2 separate regions of the Homo sapiens genome follow, and region 1 is linked to region 2. Evidence: promoter capture Hi-C in 16 types of primary human blood cells and fetal thymus (Javierre and others, 2016). All regions are on one chromosome and are shown on one strand. The core of a region is centred on a gene start or on the middle of the fragment in contact, and the rest is flanking DNA. Distances in the headings are between cores, read along the strand shown. Region 1 overlaps GALNT5 (polypeptide N-acetylgalactosaminyltransferase 5). Region 2 holds the start of PKP4-AS1 (PKP4 antisense RNA 1).

Evidence for each region. The method cuts DNA at HindIII sites, captures the fragments that hold promoters and counts their contacts. A CHiCAGO score of 5 or more calls a contact.
Region 1: a fragment that was not itself captured here is called in contact with the fragment with the promoter of PKP4-AS1 in region 2 in 1 of 17 cell types (total B cells); the score reaches 6.1 in total B cells.

The regions. Positions count from the first base shown.
Region 1 is chr2:157,302,240-157,305,517 of GRCh38, reverse strand. The region is part of intron 7 of GALNT5 (polypeptide N-acetylgalactosaminyltransferase 5); the gene reads right to left. Among named protein-coding and RNA genes, the nearest start is that of ERMN, 22 kb to the left of the region's middle. RefSeq lists a silencer at 2,829-2,908. The HindIII fragment of the contact is 2,838 bases long and covers 18-2,855 here.
Region 2 is chr2:158,731,945-158,738,287 of GRCh38, reverse strand. PKP4-AS1 (PKP4 antisense RNA 1) reads left to right here and starts at 3,286. Exons shown (of 4, transcript NR_135242.1): 1 at 3,286-3,560. The HindIII fragment of the contact is 4,247 bases long and covers 560-4,806 here.

The sequences.
Region 1 (3,278 bases), core at 187-2,686, 1.4 Mb after region 2:
GCCAACACACAGAAGCTTTTAATTAACCCTTGCCTGGAATGCTAAATAACAAATGAGCAAAGGTGGCAAGAAAAGTAATTATTTTCTTGTCTTAAGTTTATCTAATGCATATACTAAAAGTCAATGCACCTATAAGAGTTATGAGCTATGTTCCCTGACTGACCCCTTCAAGCCTTTTGACTGCTTAAGCACTGAATCATAGATAAATTGAGTCCTTCAAAGAACAGCAGATTCCAGCTGATTCCCTGTCAGAATCTTCTTAATGACCCAAGCAAGCTACAATTCATTATAGGAAAGTCACGAAAGCTAATACAGAGCCAAGCATAAAGGCACTTTCTGGCAGGCCCCCAGGTTTTTAATGGATTTACAGGGTCAAATATGGAGGTAGCTTTCTTTAAGTCACCATTTAATGCAGAAAAATGTTGATTTCCTTTCCCCCTTTGACATCCTGGGCAGGGCTAACAAGATGATGGGTTAACAGTGCAACTTAGGGTTTTCAGATTTCTCGAACAGCTGTGCAGAGCCGAATCTATAGGACATGTCCTGGGAAAGCCTCCTGAGCTGGGAGGAGCTGAAGTCTTTGTTGCCAGGGACACTATTTGTGTCCTTCCTGTTCTATGATGCCTAACAAAGAGCTCTAACTCAGGGTGCTGCACTGATGCAGACTGGATGCTCACAGAATTGCCAGACTTCATAAAAGGGGGCTCAGTACATTGGTCCTCAATTTTACATGCTTAGCTTAGTGAACAAGAAAGTAAGGGACATCTTCAGGGATCAGAATATGCGGAAAAAATTAAAGGCTACAGGGAAACTTGCAAAGGTTGGCAAGAAAGACTTGTTCCCTCATATGGATGGAAGAAAAACAGAGGTATGTGTAAACCAAAAATCTGGAATTCAGGTCTTCCACATAACAGCGGAAAAACAGATCTTCAGTTGAATGCTGCACTGGGAAAAACAATTTGCCCATTAGCAAAGGGAGAAAACAAGGAAGCTGGATTGTCCCTGAGAATCTGAAACTTTACACCAGGCTTCATTTGGATTTGAGATGAATATTTACACCACCTGCCTTGGATAGGAACCATCACAGACTTTCAAGGCATAGAAACAAACATTAAAAATAGTACCAGGTTGTTAATTACTTCTGAGGTGCCTGGCACAGGCAGAAACAAAGCAACTATGGAAGGATGGAATCTCTATCAAAAATCCTCAGAGAAAGCTCTATTAGCAATTTAAAATGACAAATATGGGAGGAGACAGCTCACTGTTAGTAAATGTGGGCATCACAAGGCACAGAAGGATTCAATGCCCCCACAGTCCCACCCCTGAACTTCAGAGAGGAAGGTGAATAGAAAGACATGAAGGTAGAATAATCTCGGGGCTTAAAGGAAGGAAAGCATGCTGCAATTGCTCTCTGTACTGAAGCAGAGATAAATATTATGTAAGCTCCTGTATTTGTGGATCATGCAGAAATATTCTATCTTCAAACAAATTTGGAAAATTCTGGTTTCCACAGAGCCGAACAGGTGGTTCTACTCCAGAACTTCTCAAAATCTTCAGGGTGTTAATGTTCAGCTTGCTGTCAGAATGTTGTACAAATGTTTCTCAAATGTGCTTGACCATGGAACCCTGAGACAGCACAAGTAACATTGGTCAGGACAGTGTTTGGGAACCCCCTGTTTAACTATTTGTGTCTATTTTGTATAATCCTTCCAAGAACCGAAAAGCATTGGAAGGAAAGATAAAACTTTTCTGTCCCTTACATGTCCCTCCCTCATTTGACCTGAAGATTTTTTTTTCCTTTTTCTTAGAAATTACTGAGGAAACTATTTAATTGAGGTTTTTGCCATGGAAGGTACTTTTACACCAACCTAATACTTTTCTTCATATAGACATCATCTCTGAAGTGTTTTGGAATTGTTATTCTTCATTTCATTATTAGTTGTTTTCAGAATTTTCCTTTTTATTTAAAAATAATTGATCCATGTTTTTACTGTAAACCATTTTAATCTTTAAAAAAAATAGGCAGTGTATGAATTTTAAATTATCCATGTTGTATTATTTCATTTTCCAATTTAGGAAGTAGACATTCCGCACAATTTATGACAGAATTGTTAAACATTAGGCTATTTGCCAGCGGTTTAATCCAGTGTAAAAATACATTATTGGTGAGATTCTTTCATTAGCTTCAAATGTTGTCGTTTCAATAAGAAAATATTTCTTCTTATTACAAAAAACCAAAACTTTCACTGGATTTAAATTTCTGCTTGTGGAGGTTGAAAAAAGGGAAACGGAGCTATAGACTGTTTGCCAGCAGTTTAATCCAGTGAAAAATACATTATTGGTGAGATTATTAGCTTCAAATATTGTTGGTTCGATAAGAAAATGTTTGTTCTTATTACAAAACACAAAACTTTCACTGGATCTAAATTCCGTAGTGGAGGTTGAAAGAAGGGAAACGAAGCAAGTAACAAAAAGAAGTTGTGGAGTTTATTTTCTTGGAACTTTCCACGATTGTCTATCTAAAATAATGATCTACTTAATTTGTTGTAAATTACCTGGAGAAAGGTCCTAATTTTTTAAAAATGTTAATAACGCTCCCTGCTGGTTTGCTTCAGAAGGGAGCAAACTACATCTTCACTGAAATTTGTTTAAGGAAGACAACAAAGGAAAATAGAAGGAATTTGTTAAAATCACTTTTTAAAATACTTGGTGCATTTTGATATAGTATAGCGGAGGCATCAGCAGAAGGCTGTTTCATTAGGAGAGCTCTCCAGAAATTTCATAGGAACTCACTCAGGTTAGCGCAACAGCGGAGCCCAAAGGTAGTTTTCTAGTGCCCTCTGGTGGTTAAAGCTTATTATTACTCTGACTGAGATTCTGCGTTGCTGGAATGGGAAATATTAGAATAGTGGAAATTCCTTTCTTTTTTTTTTTTCTGCTCAGCGGTTGAAATTAAAAATTGTAAATTTATTTTACAGTTATATTTGACATGTTGTTATTTGAACAGTGTATATAAATCCAAAATGTCTGATAAGTTACCAGGTTGAGCCACTTAAAGTAGCTGCCATTCTATTTGGACCCATAAAAATGGCAATTTTATAATACAGTGCGTTATCTAAAAACAGGTCACATAAACTTATTTATCAGTTGAATTTTGTAAAAAACAGAACCATTTTTTTAAGACTAGTTTCTTGTCTTTCATAGCTTTCCTGGATTTCCCGAATACTTTCAAGGGGGAATATTATAGTAAGTTTTTGCTATCAGGAGATTTTCCAGAC
Region 2 (6,343 bases), core at 2,037-4,536:
TTCCTATTAATGTGGAGTAGAAACTTGTTATCTGGCTCAATATTAATCTGTTTCAAAATCAGCATCAGCACGTCTATTTTCCTAAGTGCTTAATAGAATGAACAACAACTGCCCCTGTCAACTCCCAGCCCAGCGTTCTTCCTACCAAACCAAGCAGCTTATTGCCCACACAGAGGCTGAGTTCATTGAAAAATATTTATTTTTTACCTTTCTGTTTTTACCCTTCTGGCATGGCCTGTGAATGAAACCGGGAGCTGGGGATTTTGTGAGTGTTTCGAGTCCATGTAGCTTCACGACGAACTGCAGGTCCTGCAGCAGGGAGGGCTGGGCAACCAGAGCTTCTCAAGCTGACTCATGCTCAGCTCCATTACTCTAGGATTCAGTTTCTCCAGTTATAAAAATTATGATAGAGATGGAAAGCAAATTAATTGAATGAAGGATGGTTTTCAAGGGCCCCCACTGCACTTGCACAAGCAACTTTCAAGAACTGCAAGCCATATATCTATAGTTTTATACTCTTTTTCTTAAAGAAAACCCCTAAATTATAAATACACAAGCTTCTGTAAAACCTGCTCTATCCCCAGAATGGCATCCAGCTAGTTCAGGGGCACTAAGGGTTCACATTTTGAGAGAAAGGCTAGAAACCATGCCTGCTCTTCTCTGCTTTTGCCAACTCCTTTCTTTTTCTTTTTTTTCTTTTTCTTTTTTTTTTTTTTTTTTGGCCAACACTAAAGAGTTGGAAATGTTGCTATCAACAGCAAACTAACACCAGATATTTATTAACATGATTCTATTGGAAAAGCCACAGAGCTTTGGGTTACAGTGATGTCTATTATTGATGAAGAGATGAGGAGCTTCCACTGTGAAAAATAAAACTAAGCTCATATAAAATTCAACTTGGCTAATTTGACTTGAAGGTTGCAAAGCTGGAGGAAGCCAGGAAGAGGGAAAAAAAGAACTAGGAAAGGCTATGCAGTCGAGAAAGTTTGGGAGACTGGTCTATAGGGCAGGAGGAAGTCATCCCCTTATCACTGGGCCCCTTTGCTCTATAGAGAAGACACTGCCCAGTACCTGTTGATGTTCTGTGTTGCAACTGAGAGCACAATACAGAAAAGACCCCTGTCTGTGCCGCAAGACTGCATGTTGTGGTATGAAGGGCTTCAATCATTCACCATTCATTCAACAGATGTTTTCGTTAGTGTTGCTAGATGCTGGAGACATTATGTCGAGCAAAACAGATGTGGCCCTGGTGTTCCAGTTTGGAGAAGACACAGCCAAGAAAAGAGGCCAGTGCAATTCAATGTGATGTGTGCTGCAATAGGGCAGATACAGCGTATTAGGGGAGCACAAAGAGAGGCATCTGATCCAGCTCTGGGGAGTCAGGAAAGACTTCTCCAGGAAAGCGGGGATCCATCTGAGACCTGCAAAATGAGCAGGCATTCACCAGAAGAAACGAGAAGCGTGTTTAAGGTAGAACAAAGAGGGAAGCAGTCAATGTTTCTGAAGCATCATGGACCAGGTGTGTGGTGGAGTCATGGGAGAAGGATAGAGTGGGCATTATTTAAGCAGATGCTGGCTCATATCGGCTTTGAAAACCTTAGGAAGGAGTGTAGACTTTATCTCAAAGGTAATAACTTTGTGATATCACCCAGATGTTGTGGGGGAGTGGTCTAGAGGGAAGCAAGGCTGGGGATAAAGAGGCTAGTTAGGAGGCTGTGACAATGGAGGCAAAATGTAATGGGGCCCTGGATGGAAGTTGCAAATGTGGATGGAGAGATGAATAAGGATTCAAAAAATATTTAAGAGGCACAATAGACATGCTTTGATAGTTGGTTAGAAATGCAGTGTAATGTGTCCAAGGAATCTAGGATGACCTCAGACACATTTGACTTGAGCAGTTGGGCAGCCAGATGGTAGAGCCATTTGGAAAGACAGTGACTCCAGAAGGAACAGGTTTAGCACTTGTGAACTGAATTGGCCATTAGGTTAAAAGGAGGCTTCAGAATTCACAGAAGGTCAAGTTGAAAGGCCCAAGAAAAACTGACTTATTAAAGTTACAGAGGTCAGGTCAGAGGAGGAAAAGACAGGAGGTTGAGAAGTTCAATCGAAAAGGCGTTCAGATGAGAAAAGGAGGCTACAAAACCATATGTACAATAAAATACACATGCACATGATAGAAACAAGGAAAAGATGCTAGAGAAATCCATATGAACACATTAGCAGGAATTATTGCCTCATAGTAAGATCACTGGTGATTTGTAATTCCTTCTCTTTGCTTAGCTGTATTTGCAAAACTAAAGGTTGCACAATAAATGTGTGTTCTTTTTGTAATAAAAACAAAAGGTGTTTTTGAAAAGTGGTTATGCAGGTGAGGGAAGAATACGGAAGAGCTTTTCTTTTTTTTTTTTTTTTCAGGCATAGTCTCGCTCTTTTGCCCAGGCTGGGGTGCAGTGGCACCATCTCGGCTCACTGCAACCTCTACCTCCTGGGTTCAAGTGATTCTCCTGCCTCAGCCTCCAGAGTAGCTGGGATTAGAGGCAGGCACCACCATGCAGGGTTAATTTTTGTATTTTTGGTAGAGATGGGGTTGCCATGTTGGTCAGGCTGGTCACTGGTCTTGAACTCCTGACCTCAGGTGGTCTGCCCACTCAGCCTCCCAAAGTGCTGGGACTACAGGCATGAGCCACCCCACCTGGTCTAATACTGAAGGGCTTTTAACTTAAAGTGAAAAACTTAATTGGAAAGGTTTATAAAAGTAAAGCTCGTGGACAACTAACCTGATGTACTGTCTCACAAACTTGGTTGCATATTGAAATCACCTGCACAGTTTCAAAAATACTGTTCCTGGATCCCACGTCCACAGCTTCTGATTTAATTGACAGGAGGTGTGGTCCGAGCCTGGAGATTTTTGTAATGCTCCCCAGGTGATTCCAATGTTGGCAAAGATGGAAAACCACTAATGCAGTTAATGAGAAGGAAGAGGGATAACTTTTTAGACTAGCATTCTGAGTTATTTAAAGGAGTGAGAATCTTGGGGGAGAAGGTTCTCAGTGAGGCCATAAAGCGGGGTCAAAGGTTGGCAGTGAGATGGCACCCCAGGGTCAGGCATGAGGTCCATCCCACAATATGCTCTTAAATGACAACCTAGTGAAGTGAGCTGAGCTCAACCTTAGAAGGACGCTCCAAGAAACTCTGCAAAAAATGGGGACATTTTGCGCATAAGGAAATCTGAGGTCCTGCCAGCTTTGCCGTGGTCAAGAGCACGTAGCAGCTGGTTCCATATTTAAAGGCAAGCGGCTCTCACATCCTAAGGTATTACCCAGCAAAAGGCAGCCTCAGGAGGCAGCCCACTGAAGACCTTCAAGTCCACGAAGACAATGTATGGATTGTTCACTAAAACTGAGGAATGATTTTCAAATAATCTGTCGCCAGAGGGCCAATCCAGGCTTCAGGCTCCAGTGTGTATGGAGGAGCTGCCACTGCAGAGACGCTGGCTTAGGGGGCTGGGGGATGCCTCCTTTGAATTCTGGGCCCACCACTGACAACACTTCTCTTCTTGGGTGAGTTATTTCATTTCACTGACCTCGCTCTCTTTATTTGTGAAAAAGAAGATAGTACTACCTGTTACACAGGTTTCTCAGGATTAAATGAGCTCAGGTTGAGCTCATTGTGAAAGCAGCTATTCGGTTTTTTAAAATGTGATTGCCATTGTTTGAAATAGCAAAAGAGGATATATCACTGTTAAAGTCTGTCTGGACGGCAGTCTTGCTGTATCATTTCCACCTCTTGCGTGACATTTTTTCCTTTCTTATTTAATTTTCTAAATTCTAAAGTACGGCGGCTAGAGCAGACAAACTGTTCTTTTCTTAGTAGATTAATGGCATTGAGTACATAGCCCTTAAAAACATAAAGTTTAAAAGCAAAAGCAATGGCCGGGCGTGGTGGCTCACGCCTGTAATCCCAGCACTTTGGGAGGCCAAGGCTGGCGGATCACTTGAGGTCAGGAGTTCGAGACCAGCCTGGCCAACATGGTGACCCTCCCCCCGCCCCGCCCCGCCCCACCCCACCCCATCTCTATTAAAAATACAAAAATTAGCTGGGCGTGGTGGCATGTGCCTGTAATTCCAGCTACTCAGGAGGCTGAGGCAGAAGAATTGCTTGAATCCAGCAGGCGGAGGTTACAGTGAGCCGAGATCACTCCACTGCACTCCAGCCTGGGTGATAAAGCGAGACTCTGTCTCAAGGAAAGGAAAAAAAAAAAGCAAAAGCAACAAACTCAAAATTTTGTTTTTTAAGTAAAATATCTTGATGTTAGTAATCACCAGAGTGAAGACAATGGTTACTGAAATTTCAACTCTAAGAGAAAAGGCAAAAGGCAATTATAGCAAAGTATGGGCAACTTCCATATATATTTCATTAAATCTGAGATGCCTTTTATTATAAGATATGTTCATTTTCTATATAGTTAAGGAAAAAAATAGTTGCAAATTAAACTATGACACAATGCTTTCTTTCCTGATACAATGTTTTCCATATTGAAAGAGCTCTTTCATATTTATTTAAACATCTCTTGTTACGTGTAGCACTCGACGTATCTAAAAAGGAAAACACAAGTGAAATGAATTGCTTAAGGTGTTCCACAAAACTTCACATTCTCACTCTTCTGAACCACTTTGCAGTCATCAATGCCACACATTTTTTCCAAACCACACAATTAACATCCTCTGGGCTTTCATGTGAACTGGCGATACACTCTCTTATGGTCTCCCGTATTTTTTCAGCCGCTGACATCTGTTTTTACAAGCTTTTTTGCCTAGTGTGTGATAGATGATCCTTTTGTGTATATCGTGGTAACAAACCTAACTCAGCTTTATCTACTTGTGGATATCTTCCCTTCATAAGCCCTATAAAGCTATGCTTCTCAAACTTCCCTGTTCATACAAATCACCTGGGGATCTTGCTAAACAGTAGATATACAACAGGTCTGGGCTAGAGCCTGAGATCCGGCAGTTCTCACAAGCTCCCAGCTGAGGCCAATGCTGCCGGCCCCAGCACTACAGTTTGAGCAGCAAAGCTATAAAGCAATTGATCCTATTGGTTGTTGCTTCTTTGCAAGAAAATATGGAAGTGTGATTATTCCTCCAACAAATGGTTTCACTAATATCAAATTTATGTCTTGCTGCTCTGTTTTCATGCTCTTCTGTATATGCAGTAATTTTTCATTTCAATGCCAAATTGTCACATAATCTTTTTGAAAGCTCTTAAATGGCAGTGAAACTCAACATGTGTAGTGCCAGCACAGCACATAATTCACTGAAGTGTGATGGCGGGGAGTGGAGCTAGGACCAAGCTAGTTGTAGCATACCACCGATTGCAAGCTGTACTCTGATATCAGAGATGCTAAAAAGTGGAGAAGGTGCAGTTTTGGATCAAAGAAATATGGAGAATCTGTTGCAAACCTCTGTACTTTTAGCTTCCACTTTTTTTTTTCCTTTTTAAGAAAATGCTGAAATCAGCATTAGGAATTATGAGAGACAACACTAATAACCCCAGTGTGTTTTGCTGTGTCTGTTTTTAACCTTTTGGCTTCACCTTTGTAACTGGAACACAAGGATGAAAGTTCCTTGGTGTGTGAGTGTTGGTGATATGTGCCTTTACAACTGACTCCACAGCGGTCAGTCACCTAAGAACTGACTTGTTGAAAATGCCCAACTCTGAGCTCCACCCAACCTGCTGAAGCAGCATCTCTGGGGGCTGATCCCAGGAAACCCTTTTACCAAGTCCCCCAGGGAAGTCTTAGGCCACTCAAGCTTGAGAACCACTGGTTTAGTGTCTTCGTGCCTTCTTGCAATATTTAGTCCATCAGTCTTCCAGTAGGGGACAACTATCGGGCATGTCCCAAACACTGTGCAGCTGCCAGAGGGAACACCGAGAGGCCTGGCGCAGCACCTGTCCCCACCTCATGGAGCCTATGCTCCAGATAGGTTGCCACAGAGAATACTGTGCTAGGGGCATTCAGAAGGGGCATGGAAGAGAGGAAGAAGATCCTCATATGGGTGTGATTGGAAAAGGCTTTGTGGAGAAGACTAGAAACGTGCTGGATCTTGAAAGATAGATGAAATTTGGTTGGGACAGGAGAGGAAAGGAGCATTTCAGGCAGGTGGTACAGCATAAGCCCAGGCAAGGAGGCAGGCGAGCACTAGTCACACACCATAGAGAGTCGACCAGGCATCTAAAGAGATGGTTCATGCACACAGGCAGAAAGTATATGCTTGAAAGTTAGATAAGAGTAAGGCAATGCCCCAGGAGGATTTACCCTCTAATAGCCGGTCCCTCCATGTGG